Linked DNA regions of Homo sapiens: region 1 is linked to region 2. The links are contacts of gene promoters, found by promoter capture Hi-C in human tissues and cell types (Jung and others, 2019). All regions are on one chromosome and are shown on one strand. Each heading gives the region's core, a stretch centred on a gene start or on the middle of the fragment in contact. The rest is flanking DNA. Distances are from core to core; before and after follow the strand shown.

Region 1 (7,276 bases), core at 2,835-5,334, 130 kb before region 2:
TCTGACATAAAAAGGCAGTGCAGGTGACACCAAAGGGAAAGAACAATGTGAGGGTCAAACTGTTCCCACCTGCATCTGACACAATCATTTACTTAAAAACAGACTCAATTAGCAACTAAAACACAAGAGTACAACCAGACTGCTGAATTTGAAATCATGTTACAAAATCAAAGACATTTATTTATATCAACATTACCTAGAAAATGTAAGAAAAAAAAGTATCATTCACAGAAGTAGGGAAAACTACAAAGGGTATTAGGAAATTTGCCAAGATTACTCAAAGCCAATGTGTTGAAAAAAAAGTTAAATAGAAGGCATTTCATGCTCCTAAATGGATGACATTACAAAGCTGTCAAGTCCCCTCAAATTGAATCTATAAGCTGGGTGTGGTGGCTCATGCCTGTAATCCCAGCACTTTGGGAGGCCAAGGAGGCATGATCGCTTGAACCCAGGAGTTCACGACCCACCTGGGCAACATAGTGAGACTCTGTACCAAAAATTAAAAAATTAGCCGGGCATGGAGGTGCACACTTGTAGTCCCAGATACTCAGGAGGCTGTGGCAGGAGGGTCGCTTGAGCCCAGGAGGTCAAGGCTTCAGTGAGCTATGATTGCACCACTGCACTCCAGCCTGGGTGACAGGTCTCATTAAAAAAAAAAAAAAAAAAAAAAATGAGCAAACTGAATCCAGCTCCGCACCCCCCAACAACAAAACAAAATTGGTGAGGAGGATTAAACCATGAACAAGTGGAATTTAACCCCAGAAATGCAAGGTTGGCTTAATAGCTAAAAATGAATTAATATGCCAAATATCAATAGAACAAAATAAAGGACAAAACCACACAAGCATCTCATTAGACAGGAAAAAATGAACACCCCTTCATGGTCAAAACACTTAGCAAATGGTTTGCTAAGAAAAGAAAACTTCCTCAATCTAACATAGGGCATCTATGAAAAACTACAGCTAACATCACACTTAAAGGTGAAACCCGGGAAGCTCTCTCCCTAAGATCAGAAACCAGACAAGGATGTCCAGTCTTGCCACTTCTATTCAACCCTGTACTAGAGATTCGAAGTAGGGCCATAAGGAAGAAACAGAAATAAAAAGAATGCAGATTGGAATGGAAGAAACCAAATGAGCCCTAAAGATGACACAAGCTTTTATGCAGAAATTCCCAAGGAAGTTTAAATCATTAGAACTAATAAACGAGTTTAGCAAGGTTATAGGATATAAGATAAATATGCAAAAATCAATTTTTTTTAACTTTTTTTATTTTTTGAGATGGAGTCTCGCTGTGTCACCCAGGCTGGAGTGCAATGGCATGATCTCTGCCCACTGCAAGCTCTGCCTCCCGGGTTCAAGTGATTCTCCTGCCTCAGCCTCATGAGTAGCTGGGATTATAGGTGCGAGCCACCACATCCCGCTAATTTTTGTATTTTTAGTAGAGATGGGGTTTCACCACGTTGGCCAGGCTGCTCTTGAACTCCTGACCTCAAGTGATCTGCCCACCTTGGCCTCCCAAAGTGCTGGGATTACAGGCATGAGCCAGTGTGCCCAGCCAATCACTTGTATTTCTATACAGTATCAATGATCAAAATGAAAAAGAATTTTTAAAACAATTCTATTTAAAATAGCATCAAAAAATATAATACTTAGGGGCCAGGCACAGTGGTTCACGCCTGTAATCCCAGCACTTTGGGAGGCCAAGGCGGGTGGATCATGAGGTCAGGAGATGGAGACCATCCTGGCTAAGATGGTGAAACCCCGTCTCTACTAAAAATACAAAAAAAATTAGCCGGGCATGGTGGCAGGTGCCTGTATTCCCAGCTACTCGTGAGGCTGAGGCAGAAGAATGGCGTGAACCCGGGAAGCGGAGCTTGCAGTGAGCCGAGATCGTGCCACTGCACTCCAGCCCGGGTGACAGAGCAAGACTCCATCTCAAAAAAAAAAAAAAAAAAAAAAAATTAGCATGGTGTGGTGGCTCACACCTGTGGTCCCAGCTACTTGGGAGGCTGAGGTGGTAGGATTGCCTGAGCCCAGGGAGATGGAGGCTAGAGTAAGCCATGATCACACTCCAGCCTGGATTACAGAGGGAGACCCTGTCTAAAGAAAAGAAAATCTTACAATAAACCCTCACATTTAAAGCCAACTGATTTTCAACGAGGGTGCAAGAACAATTCAATGAGGGAAGAAAGGTCTTTTTCATAAATGTTGCTGGGACAACTGATTATCAACTTGCAAAATAATAAACTGGGACCCCTACTTCAAACCATATACAAAAATTAACTCAAAATTGATCGAAAACCTAAATAAAAGAGATAAAACTATAAAACTCCAAGAAAAAATAAATGTAAATGTTTGTGACCTTCTATTAAGTAATGGTAAGTTCTTAGGTTTTAGACCAAAAGCACCAGCAACTAAAAGGAGGAAAAAAACAGGTAAGTCGGACTTCATCAAAATTGAAAACATTTATACTTCAAAGGACACCATCAAGAAAGGGGAAAGACAAGCCACAGACCGGAAGAAAATATTTGCAAATCCCATGGCTGATAAGGGACTTCTGCTTATATAAAGAACACTGAAAACTCAACAATAAAAATCAATCCAATTTGAAATCACAGGAGAAGAGATATTTCTCCAAAGAAGCTCTAAAGATGGCCAGTAAGCACACGAAATGATGCTCAACATCACTGGCCGTCAGGAAAATGCAAACCAAAACCACAATGAGATGCCACTTCCCACCCGCCAGGACAGCCACAGACACTAAGAAATGGTGGCGAGGACGTGGAGAACCTGGAGCCCTCTGCAACTGCTGCAGGGAAAGCAAGATGGGGCAGCCACCGTGGGGGTCCAGCAGTTCCCCCAGGGTGGAGAGGCCGTGGCTCAGCGGCAGTGTGTAAGGGAACAGGGCACAGGCAAAGCCTAAAGCGTAATGGAATAACCTGGGGCTTGTGGCATCTGGTGTCACGTAGGAAACAAGTTCCACTAGGAAGGTCAAAGGAGGGGTGACCAGGGAGAGAAGGGGGAAGAGCCGGAGGGCACTGGAGCCAACAGAAGAAACAGTTCAAAGACACAGAAAGGACGGCAACAGGAAGGGGCCAAAGTACAGGAAGAAAACACCCAGTCAGGCTGCAGGAGGTGGATGGCGCAGGAGGTGGGGGCAACCCTGGAGGGCCGGCTAGGGGTAGCGGCAGAGGCGGGCAGCGGTCACCACAGTGCACAGCCAGTGGGTGGACGAGAACCCACAGGCACAGCGAGGCCATCTAGGGTGAAAGGAGAACACGGCAGGGGCCACAGCCCACAGTCCATGAGGAGCCAGGCCTTGCGCGCTGTCTGGAGAGGAGCAGGCTCCAGCTGGGAGAGCCTTAGGCAAGTCCAGTGTCTGAGCTGCTCCCACGGCCGCCACCCTTATGGGTCCAGCCAGAACACCACTCTCCCTTCACTGTGGAGCACAGCACAGCTCGTCTGGCGCCACCTGCCCTCATTTCCTGGGGGCGCTCTTGGTGGTGCAGGCTCTCCAAGAACATCCGAACCCTATGTGTGCGCCACGCCTTACAGAGGGGTGCAGCCCCGCCGACTCCCCTCGCCCCAACTCCCCTCACCCTGCCTCTCTGCAGACACTTGCTTCCACACCACTCCCTCCACCTCCTGGTAACCACTGCTGTTCTCCAAGTGTCTGCCATAAAATTGGAGTCATGCAGCTTGTGGCCCTTTGGGTCTGGCCTCCTTCACTTAACAAACCGTACAAAAGCTTCATCCATGGCGCGGCGTCAGTCATGCTGTGTGCTCTTCTGGGCTGCTGACCGCTGTCCCACTGTGTGGATGTACCACGATCTGTTTATCCAGTTCCTTATCAACTGAGGACACCGGAGTGTCTCCGGTTTTCGGCGACGTGACAATGCTGCTATAAACATTTGTGTGGCCACTCACTTTTAATTTTCTGGGTGTACTTTAAGACAAGGATATACAGGATTTTTGCTTTTCATACTTTGACAAATGTGTTCCTTCTCTGGCAGAGCTTTTGTGTTTGTCTGTGCAACTGTGCTATTTAGGAATGGGATAGATTAGAAACTATACCATAAACCTAGGTGAAGCAAAGAAAGTCAGAAGACGGGGACTAATAAGAGAGGAAGAGCAGCAGGTTTTCTAGTCTGGAGGGAGGCGCTGCTCCTGTCCCTCGGTGCACACCGCCCTCACCTTCTCCCAGCAGCTCGGTTTTCACACAGCAATCCTGCTGAGGCTCCCCCCTCGCCGGAACTGCCTGTTAGAGAGAAACAACAGCCGTCAGCCGGGTTCAGTGGGAGGCCGCTTTTCCAAATGGACATCATTTGGAAAAAGTCAAAAAATCGTAGTTACAACATTCACCATGAGCTGCTGGACAGTCAGATTTACTCCTGCCAGCTGGTTACAGTCGCCTCCAGCAGAAGAACTGGCATTCAGAACACAGTCCAAGGAAACTTCTCCTGTATTTCTATTTTTGAAGACAGTTTCTTAACAATAAGAACGCATTCATGTATCATTTATATAATTAGATATCTGAAATCTTTGGGCTCTGTTACAGGAGTGTTACAATTTATTTCAAAATGCATTCTACTGCTGACAATAATTCATATATTTCAAATGTCCAACCTCCTACAAAAAATTATAGAAATAGATAAATCAAGAAAATTCAATAAGGAACTTAAATCACTAAATCTTTGAGATTAAGCATCTATAGAGGTATGTATTATACAAGGCCTCTTACAATTTTTTTGTTGAGACAGAGTTCACTCTCTCGCCCAGGCTGGAGTACAGTGGCGCGATCTCGGCTCACTGCAACCTCTGCTTCCACAGTTCAAGCGATTCTCAGGCCTCACCCACCTGAGTAGCTGGGACTACAGGTGCACACCACCACACCCAGATGCTTTTTGTGTTTTCAGTAGAGATGGGGGTTTCGCCATGTTGGCCAGGCTGGTCTCAAACTCCTGGCCTCAAGTGATCCGCCCGCCTCAGCCTCCCAAAGTGCTGGGATTAGAGGTGTGAGCCACTGCACTTGGGTGGCACTTGGACAGAATTTTTTTTTTTTTTTTTACACAAAAATCCTTGCCTTCAAGAAGCTTAGAGTCTGGTTGGAGAAGTGAACATAAACACATAAAACACTCCTAGCCAGGCCTCTCCCGACGCAGCAGCAGGACCATGGAGTCCATAAGGAGGCAGCAGGGAGTCTGCAAATGCCCCACCCACAGCTGGGGGCCGGGGAAGAGGGCTGCTGACCACTCTGGGCAGTTGGAGATGCCAGACTGCAAGTGGGAGCTGTCAGGCTGACACCCACACCTGGTGATGTGATACTGGAGAAAGCCCTCTGGTGAGGCCACTGGAAGCTGGAAGTGGGCAGGAAGCCTCCGGGTCAGAGTGATAAAATAGGAACAACTGAGGGAGGCACACTTGGTGCTCCGAGTCCACAACCAGAAGAGGAGAGGCACAGACTTGCCCGAGGTCACTAGGAGCAGCCAGTCAGACAGCTGCAGGAGGCCAGCCACGCACTGATTCCATCTTTAATTGACTATCAACAGGTAAGAAGAGGCTGCAAAAACCCGGGTGTCCAGCGTCTGGATGAGAAAACATGTCAACAATGGGGCCTCTCAACAGAACCCCTCCTCCCCACAAAGCAGACGCCAGGCCAGCCCCTACCTGAGCCCGGATGTGCCTACTGCTTTCCAGGGCTCACATCCATATGGTCTCGCTGCCTTCTGGGCTGACTTGGTAACACCGGACCTAACTGCATCACCCTCCCCAGGAGCTGGTCTTAGCAACTGTGCACAGCCCACCCCACCACGGTAAGGCAGGGGGGCCCAGGTTTCCACCTCCCACCCCCTGATCTCCCACTGCCAAGCCAGGGCCAGCAGCCCAGCTGCTCATGGCCAGCCCTCGAACATGCAGAGCACGCTACCTTTCCTGGTCCATCACAGCTGTACGCCAGCCAGCTCAGCCTGCACCCTTCACACCTACCCCCCAACAGGAGCTCTCCGGGGTCCCTGCAATCCTTCCAGGAGTCCAGGAGGTCAAAACTATTTTCATGGTAATACTAGGACCTCAATTGCCTTTTTCACTGTGCTGATATTTGCACAGACGGTGCCCAAGCGGTGGTGTCAGCCCCTTTGCATCGACCAGGTCAGGACACCGAAGTGTACTCCAGCAACTGAACTCTTGACCAGCAGGCACTTGGGGGGCTCGCCTGAGAGTGCCCTGGATGAGGCAGTGAGATGATGGCCTGTGAGCACAGCTCTCCAGCGTTCCACATCAGAGGAAGGGGGCAGGCAGCAGGCCAGGCACAGTGGCTGCGTGGAACCCGAAGCTTTCCTCACTCACAGAGCATCTTCACTTAAAAGAACAACTGGCAAAATGTATGCCACTCAGACCTGAACATACCACTCAGGCCTGGACATGCCACTCAGACCTGGACATGCCACTCAGGCCTGGACATGCCACTCAGTCAGACCTGGACATCTGGCAGACATTTCCACAGAACAGAGTGAGCCTCAAAGAAAACAACCAGTAGTATTTGTTGCCAATGTTAAAACTCTACCTTTTGAATTTTCGAAACACATGTAAATGTGTATCTGTCCCCATGAGCTTGAAAGTTTCTCCATATTTATGACTTTTCTTATTACATGAGCGGTATCATTAGTGACTATGATTTTTGATACCATATAATAAAATGTGTCAACATGGGGAAGATCTTCCTAACAAGGTGAGCTGACACTCCCCAAATGCCCAGTGCCTAATATTCAAAATCACGCATGGGACAAAGATGCATCCAAGATGGGCTTTAATGTCACAGAGGAAGAAGGTCATTGGCACAGTTTCACCTTGTTGAGTTTTCGTGTCATATCAAAGCAGAATAGCTGCAATTATCTGAAAAGATATCAAAATACTTCCCCCTTGCCAACCACATGTCTATGGGAGACCAGATTTTCTTCAGACAGTATCACCTCAGGCTGGGTGCAGAAGCCAATCTGCAAATCCAGCTGACTCTTCGATTAGCCAGACATGACAGAGATGGACCAACATGGAAAACAATGCCATTCAACTGAGTTTTTTTCATTCAGAAAAAGTACTTTTCACAGAAACTGCTGTATTCCCTAACATGTAAATAAAATGTTACATGTTTACTTTTATTATTTTTTAAAAATGTGATTTTTAACTTTTCAGTTTTCATTTCTTTTACAGTAACTATCATTAGATACAACCCAATAAACAAGAGCCCTCTGGGGTCCTCAATACTTTTAAGAGCAGGG
Region 2 (7,654 bases), core at 527-3,026:
TTCCGTGGCCCCGACTTCTTGGTCTTCGTAGCCAGGTATCTAAGACGTCCTGTGAGGACATCCAGATGGCTGCAATGTGGGGCTGCTTCTAAAGCTTGTTTGGAGTGTGGTGTGTTGGGATGCGCACCTGGTCACTCTCCCTCCCCCGCAGAGGTGTGTGGTTGAGGCCCTTTTGGAATGCCCTGCTGCCTTCCTGGCCAGCCTTTTCTGCGCCTCTGTCTCTGTGGTGGTCTGAGCTGTTGGCTCTCTGCCATGTCTTTAGCCACAGCCCTGCTTGAAGCCCTGAGGCTGAATACCCAGGCACCCGTATATTTCAGTCAAGTCCGCCTTAGCTTCCTGGAGCTGCCGCAACAAAGCAGCGCGAGCTGTGCAGCCTGAAGCAGCGGGAATTCACAGTCTAGGCTCTGGAGGCCGGAGTCTCAGATGAAGGCGCAGGCAAGGGCCCTCAGGTGCGGACGCCTCCTCCCTGCCAGGTGCCTTGCCTGCCTCCCTGTGCTCTGCACAGCAATGGCCCTGCAAGTCTTCTGCATCAGCTTTCTCTTCTGCGGACTCCTGCTCCTCTGGGTCAGGGCCCACGCCTGCTGCTTCTGAGAGCCCCTGTTTGTTAAGGATGCTCTCTGAGGTGCTGGGGTCTTCAGTCCATTGTTTTTTGGGGGGCACAGTTCAACCTGTAACGGCCCAAGGGGTTCTTCCTGCCCGCTGCACACATTCAGACCGTGGATTGCAATAAAGAAAAAAAGTTTAGGGCCGGGCGCAGTGGCTCACACCTGTAACCCCAGCACTTTGGGAGGCCGAGGCGGGTGGATCACGAGGTCAGAAGATCGAGACCATCCTGGCTAACACGGTGAAACCCCGTCTCTACTAAAAATACAAAAAATTAGCTGGGCGTGGTGATGCGCGCCTGTAGTCCCAGCTACTGGGGAGGCTGAGGCAGGAGAATGGCTTAAACCCGGGAGGCGGAGCTTGCAGTGAACTGAGATCGCGCCACTGCACTCCAGCCTGGGTGACAGAGCAAGACTCCGTCTCAAAAAAAAAAAACAAAAAAATTAATAGACACGGGCCGGCCAGGCCACATGTGAGATGGAGTTCGTCCTCAGATCATCTTGTCCAAAGCTCCTAGGTTAGGGGTTTTTTCAAAGGCAGTTTTGGGGGAGGGGGGCGGCGGCCAGGCGACTGGTGCTGATAATCATAGGGGTCGGAGCCGTCCACCTGCTGAGCCGCTTCTGGGGGGTCCTGATGCAGCCACGGGTGTCAGACAAGCAAAGACCCTGGAAGGCGGTCTCTGAGGGGCAGCTCCGCCATGGCGGGTTCACAGGAGGCAGGCAGAGCGCGCCTGCGGCCTCGGGGTGCTGGGCTTAGTGGGGCGCGGGCTCCTCATCAGCTTTACGAAGGCGTTGATTCCGGGGCAAGGCCTGTCATGGAAACTGCAGCCTAAATGTTAAGTCAGCGCGGCCCGATGGCCAGGAGTAACCGGGAGGGCGCCACGGGGTGCGCTACCGCAGCTCGCTGTTGGGGTTTTTCTCAGTGATAGAAATTTTGCAGAGGCGGCTTCAAACCTACGGCTCTGTCACTAACTTGCCGTCTCCAAACCTGCTTTGTGGAGGAGCGGATTTCCCGAAGCCTTCGGTCTCTACGGCCCCGCAGGGAGCAGCGCGTCTGACGCCTGAAGCCCGCCGCGGTCAGCCGGCCGACAGGGGGCGTGGGAGCCTGGCTTCCCAGGGGCGTCCACGGAGGCCAAGGCCCTGCCGGATGTCCCGCCCCGGCACCCCGGAAGGAGTCGCGAGAGAGGCGGCCCGCGCTGACGGTGTCCCTGGGGCTCTGCGCTCGTCCGGCCGGCCCCGGCCTCGCCGCCCCGCGCAGTACCCAGCCCGGCCCCGCCGACCCGCCTCTACTGCCGGCTCCGCGCCCTTCCCCGAGGGCTGGATGATGGGCTGTTTCGCCCTGCAAACGGTGGACACCGAGCTGACCGCGGACTCGGTGGAGTGGTGCCCGCTGCAAGGCTGCAGGCACCTGCTGGCGTGCGGGACCTACCAGCTGCGGCGGCCGGAGGACCGGCCTGCCGGCCCCCAGAACAAGGTGCGCGCGCCGCGGCTTCGGGAGGGGAGGGCGGGGCCGGCCACGAGGTTGAGGCCGAAAGGCGCACCGAATCGCCCAGGAGATGAAGAGGGGATATTGGCCCTTTGGCCAGGAGGTAGGCTGGAAACAGTTTAGAATCTTTTTAAAAAAATTGTTCTCGGCCGGGCGCAGTGGCTCACGCCTGTAATCCCAGCACTTTGGGAGGCCGAGGCGGACGGATCACGAGGTCAGGAGATCGAGACCATCCTGGCTAACATGGTGAAACCCCGTCTCTACTAAAAAAATACAAAACAATTAGCCGGGCGTGGTGGCGGCGCCTGTAGTCCCAGCCACTCGGGAGGCTGAGGCAGGAGAATGGCGTGAACCCGGGAGGCAGAGCTTGCAGTGAGCCGAGATCGCACCACTGCATTCCAGCCTGGGCGATACAGCAAGACTACATCTCAAAAAAAAGAAATTACTTTTTTCTGAGACAAGGTCTTGCACTGTCACCCAGGCTGGAGTGCAGCCTCGGACTCCAGGGCTCAGGGCATCCTCCCGCCTCAACCCCCTGAGTAGCTGGCACCACAGGCACGAGCCACCGCCCCCGGCCAACTTTAAAATCTTGAGAGCAGAACGTCTTCTATATACAGGTGTGGCCCAAGGGAATGGGTGGAATGTACAGTAAAGAGAAAGTGGGAATTATATCTTAACTTCTGGTGGGTACATATTAGGATCCAAATTGGGCACTGGAACAACAGGCGTAAGTCAGGACTGTCCCAGGCAAACTGGGTTCTGTGGTTACCCTAGCCATAGCTGGTCCCTGTTGGCCGGTTTAGAAGGAGCCTTCTCTACTGGGTCCAGGAGTGTTCACCTACTCATTAATAGACGTTTCTCCAGCTCAGAAAACCAGAGGTTCTCCTTCCAGGCAGAATTCCACTCCTTTAGTCATGGCAAACCTTTGAGTTCCTTGGATCCCTTTTCCCATCCTTTGGGTTCCTTCGTGTCTTGGGATAATCAGAGACTACCTCTGCATTTTTTGTAGGGTGGAATGGAAGTTAAGGAGCCTCAGGTCCGTTTAGGCCGTCTCTTCCTGTACAGTTTCAATGACAACAACTCTATTCACCCTCTGGTCGAGGTCCAAAGAAAAGATACTTCTGCAATCCTGGACATGAAATGGTATAACTGTGATAATCCCACTGGGTGTAGAATTTGTCATGAGTAGCAATCAGGGAAGCCTGATGCCTGATGCCTTCAACAAGACAGGCATTGCATCTCAACTTTGGATTTGTTTCTTTGCTGTCCCGCCTATCTTCCACCTGGGGAGTGCTTTACCTGGGGCTTATTTCCTTTGTCATGTTCCAGCCGGGGAAGTGATGGGAGTTTTCTGACTTCATAACCTGGGGCGTCTTTTGTTTGAGAACACAGTTGTAGGCTCTAGCCCACTTTTGGAGCTGAGATTTAAATGCAGTGGTGTGTGGCATAATTATGTTTTGGTCAACAATGGAGCACGTATACCATGGTGGTGCCTTAACGTAATGGAGATGCCCTATACAGGTGTACCAGTTTTTATCCTTTTTAATTTTTTTTTTTTTGAGGCAGGGTTTTGTTCCGTTGCCCAGGCTGGAATGCAGTCACGTGATCATAGCTCACTGCAGCCTTGAACTCCTGGGCTCAAGCAATTCTCTGTCTCAGCCTCTCGAGTAGCTGAGACTTCAGACTTCAGGTAGATGCCACCATGCCTCTTTTTTTTTTTTTTGAGACGGAGTCTCGCTCTGTCGCCCGGGCTAGAGTGCAGTGGCGCGGTCTCGGCTCACTGCAAGCTCCGCCTCCTGAGTTCACGCCATTCTCCTGCGTCAGCCTCCCTAAGAGCTCGGTCTACAGGCGCCCGCCACCACACCCGGCTTATTTTTTTGTATTTTTAGTAGAGACGTGGTTTCACCATGTTATTAGGATGGTCTTGATCTCCTGACCTCGTGATCCACCCGCCTCAGCCTCCCAACGTGCTGGGATTACAGGCGTGAGCCACGACGCCTGGCCTTACCACACCTCATTTTTGTTTGTTTGTTAGTTTGTAGAAACAGGGTCTTGCTATGTTGCTCAGGCTGGTTTCGAACTCCTTACCTCAAGTCATCCTCCTACCTCAGCTTCCCAAAGTGTTGGGGTTACAAGTGTGAGCCACCATGCCCGGCCACCTGTTTTTTATCCTTTATATTGTATTCTTACTGTATCTTTTCTATGTTTAGATATACAACCACTTCCTGTTGTGTCACACTTGCCTGCAGTAACATGCTGTAAGGTTTGTGGCATAGGAGCAGTGGGCCATACCATATAATCAAGGTGTGTAGTAGGATGTCCCAGCTGGGTTTGCGTGGACTGCAGCCCCGTTGTTAAGGGAAGCGTGACTGTGGTTACCGGGACGCACAGTGCACGCCTGTGCTCCGGGCACATTGGTGTGCTTATGGTGGGCCCTCTCCTCAGGTGTCACATCCCGGTGGCTGGACATGCCCTCTTGGGCTTGGCAGATGCCAGTGGATCCATACAACTGCTCCGCCTGGTGGAATCTGAGGTCAGTGACTTGCACTTGTTCTGTGGGGCAGAAGGGACCTGAATAGAGAGGGTTGGGGAGGAGGCTGTGCTGATACAGACATTTTTCTAAAACGATCTCTCTTCAATGGTGAGCTATATATAAACGTTCTAAGATAATGTGGAGTCTATTTTTAAGTTGTATTGCGTTCTACATCCAACTCCAAGAGGAAGTCACCTCATGTGTCACCAGCAGAAGGGCTGAAGTGACAGGATGTTCATTGACCTGTCAGTGGATCTGAAAGTTCTCTAAGGAGAGCCTGGGCAAGCATTCTTAGGTTGATGCTGGGGCCCAGAGTAGCAGTGAGCATCCTGTGTGAAGATGGCATTTCTCACTGATTATTGGAAAAGCACGTGAGTCCTGTGTGAATTTTTCCGAGTTTCTCACAGTGCTCTGGAGCCATGCATTAACAAAGTGACTTCATCTGATAGCTGTCGGGGAGGAGAACGGGGATGTCCCGTAGTGGGGTGATGTAAACAGCCTGAAACCACGCCCTCACTCCGATGCAGATGCTGCAGGCGGGGCTGGGCCAACCGAGGGCCTGTGTAGGAAAAGGCCTTGCTTAAGGCAGCTTAGAGCAGTTGCCCTGTCTTAGAAAGGAGGGAAAGAGCAGCCACAGGAAAGCTGTGGGCCCAAGGGAGGAGTGCATGAACCCAGGAAAGGGCTTTGGTACAGCAGCCTGCTGGGAGCAGGGATGGAGTTAAGCACTGGCCAGGCTGTTTAGGAAATGAAATTTATATAGATCTGCATAAAGAGCAACCACGTTCTCATGGCTGCTCGCGGCTTCTGAAGTGGAAACCAGAGGAGTTTCCCCATTGTCTCTGTCTCGGGAGGCGAGTGTTCCAGTGGCCCTGGAGGCCTGGGGTGGGAAACTGTGTGTGCCACTGTGGTCTGGAGCCTGCACAGGCATCTCGACAGCATCTAGGAGCGCAAGGATGGCAAGGGGGTGTGAAAGGGAGGGAGACCATGCCCCAAGATCAAGCCTGTGGGAAAGTTGTCCTGCAAGTGTGAGGAGTGTGAGCTCCAGTGTCCCCAGGTCTTCTCGGGGCCCCTAGCAGGGGTTTCAGTGTTAGGTGGAGGTGTGACTCAGTGACTGATGTACTTCATTCGCATAGGTTGTAAATGAGGGAACGATGACTTCCCTGCAGGAGAGGAAAAGTCTTTTGGGGGTTCTGGGGCGGCTACTTCCCTTTGATGGAGTTTCTTCTTCTCCAGTAGAAGAGCCACGTGCTGGAGCCATTGTCCAGCCTTGCCCTGGAGGAGCAGTGTCTGGCTTTGTCCCTAGATTGGTCCACTGGGAAAACTGGAAGGTAAGGGCCAGGCTTGGTCAGGGGTCCTGAGTCTTTCTCTGAGAACCACTTCCACTTTTCAGGCTAGAGGGCTCCAGCCACCTTCAGCGAGCTGCGACTGTGCTCCTCAGCCCTGACATCATCACTGCCAGTCCTATTATGAAAAAAAGGTCCCCCATTTTAGATACATAGCGATAGTGTTTTTACCTAGAGAAGTCGACACTGGTGTCTTTGACAAGCTTAGCAGTGGTTGTGATCTTAGCCGCCAGTCTCTTAAGGGGCATATCCGCATCCCAGGGCTGTGGAGACCGTCTCTCAGGACTTGTTTGGGAACCAGAAGAGGCTGACGAATAACATTCTGCCGGGCTTCTTCATGGGTTCCCTGTGTCTAGGGCCGGGGACCAGCCCTTGAAGATCATCAGCAGTGACTCCACAGGGCAGCTCCACCTCCTGATGGTGAATGAGACGAGGCCCAGGCTGCAGAAAGTGGCCTCATGGCAGGCACATCAATTCGAGGCCTGGATTGCTGCTTTCAATTACTGGCATCCAGAAATTGTGTATTCAGGTCAGTATTCCTCCACCGGTCACCTCTGATGGAAGGCTTGCTGAGGAAGGGGCGGAGGGAGAGAGGGAGGCCTGTGCCACAGCTGTGATTCCAGTTATGTTGGGATCTTGAAGACCTTTTATGGAAAGTGTACTTTTTTTTTTGAAACTGAGTCTTGCTCTTTTGCCAGGCTAGAGTGCAGTGGCACGATGTTGGCTTACTGCAATCTCCACCTCCCAGGTTCAAGCGATTCTACTGCCTCAGCCTCCCAAGTAGCTGGGATTACAGGCGCCTGCCACCACACCCAGCTAATTTTTGTGTTTTTAGTAGAGACAGGGTTTCACCATGTTGGTCAGGCTGGTCTCTATCTCCTGACCTCATGATGCGCCCACCTCAGCCTCCCAAAGTGTTGGGATTACAGGTGTGAGCCACTGCGCCTGGCCACTATTTTTTTTCTTTTTTGGAGAATGTACTTTCTGGAACAAAGGCTATAGTTGGCGCTCATCACTTAGCTATTCTTTTTTTTTTTTTTTTTTTTTTTTTTTTGAGACAGAGTCTCACTCTGTTGCCCAGGCTGGAGTGCAGTGATGCAATCTCAGCTCACTGCAAGCTTTGCCTCCTGGGTTCACGCCATTCTCCTGCCTCAGCCTCTTGAGTAGCTGGGACTACAGGCACCCGCCACCATGTCCAGCTAATTTTTTGTAGTTTTTTTTTTAGAGAGATGGGGTTTCACCGTGTTAGCCAGGATGGTCTCGATCTCCTGACCTCGTGATCCTCCCGCCTCGGCCTCCCAAAGTGCTGGGATTACAGGTGTGAGCCACTGCACCCGGCCCACTTAGCTATTCTTTTTTTTTTTTTTTTTTTTTTTGAGATGGAGTCTTGCTCTGTTGCCTAGGCTGGAGTGCAGTGGCGCGATCTCGGCTCACTGCAAGCTCCGCCTCCCAGGTTCACGCCATTCTCCTGCCTCAGCCTCCCGAGTAACTGGGACTACAGGTGCCCGCCACCACGCCCGGCTAATTTTTTGTATTTTTAGTAGAGACGGGGTTTCACTGTGTTAGCCAGGGTGGTCTTGATCTCCTGACCTCGTGATCCACTCGCCTCGGCCTCCCAAAGTGCTGGGATTACAGGCGTGAGCCACCTTGCCCCGCCCACTTATTCTTTAGAGAGCAAAGTATAGCTTGC

What was found. Contacts are between HindIII fragments. The study calls those that stand out against the background at their distance.
Region 1: a fragment that was not itself captured here is called in contact with the fragment with the promoter of DPH7 in region 2 in 4 of the 25 tissues and cell types used here (H1 embryonic stem cells, aorta, lymphoblastoid cells and 1 more).

What each region holds. Positions count from the first base shown.
Region 1 is chr9:137,707,951-137,715,226 of GRCh38, reverse strand. It overlaps EHMT1 (euchromatic histone lysine methyltransferase 1), which reads right to left. Exons shown (of 27, transcript NM_024757.5): 2 at 4,197-4,260. Among named protein-coding and RNA genes, the nearest start is that of EHMT1, 93 kb to the right of the region's middle. RefSeq lists an enhancer at 5,769-6,730. The HindIII fragment of the contact is 3,261 bases long and covers 2,454-5,714 here.
Region 2 is chr9:137,573,047-137,580,700 of GRCh38, reverse strand. It overlaps DPH7 (diphthamide biosynthesis 7), which reads left to right and starts at 1,776. Exons shown (of 9, transcript NM_138778.5): 1 at 1,776-2,076; 2 at 3,098-3,231; 3 at 4,534-4,621; 4 at 5,858-5,949; 5 at 6,321-6,493. The coding sequence starts at 1,924. RefSeq lists enhancers at 1,371-1,430, 525-1,496, 4,231-5,040, 4,970-5,264 and a silencer at 1,681-2,090. The HindIII fragment of the contact is 7,311 bases long and covers 1-6,625 here.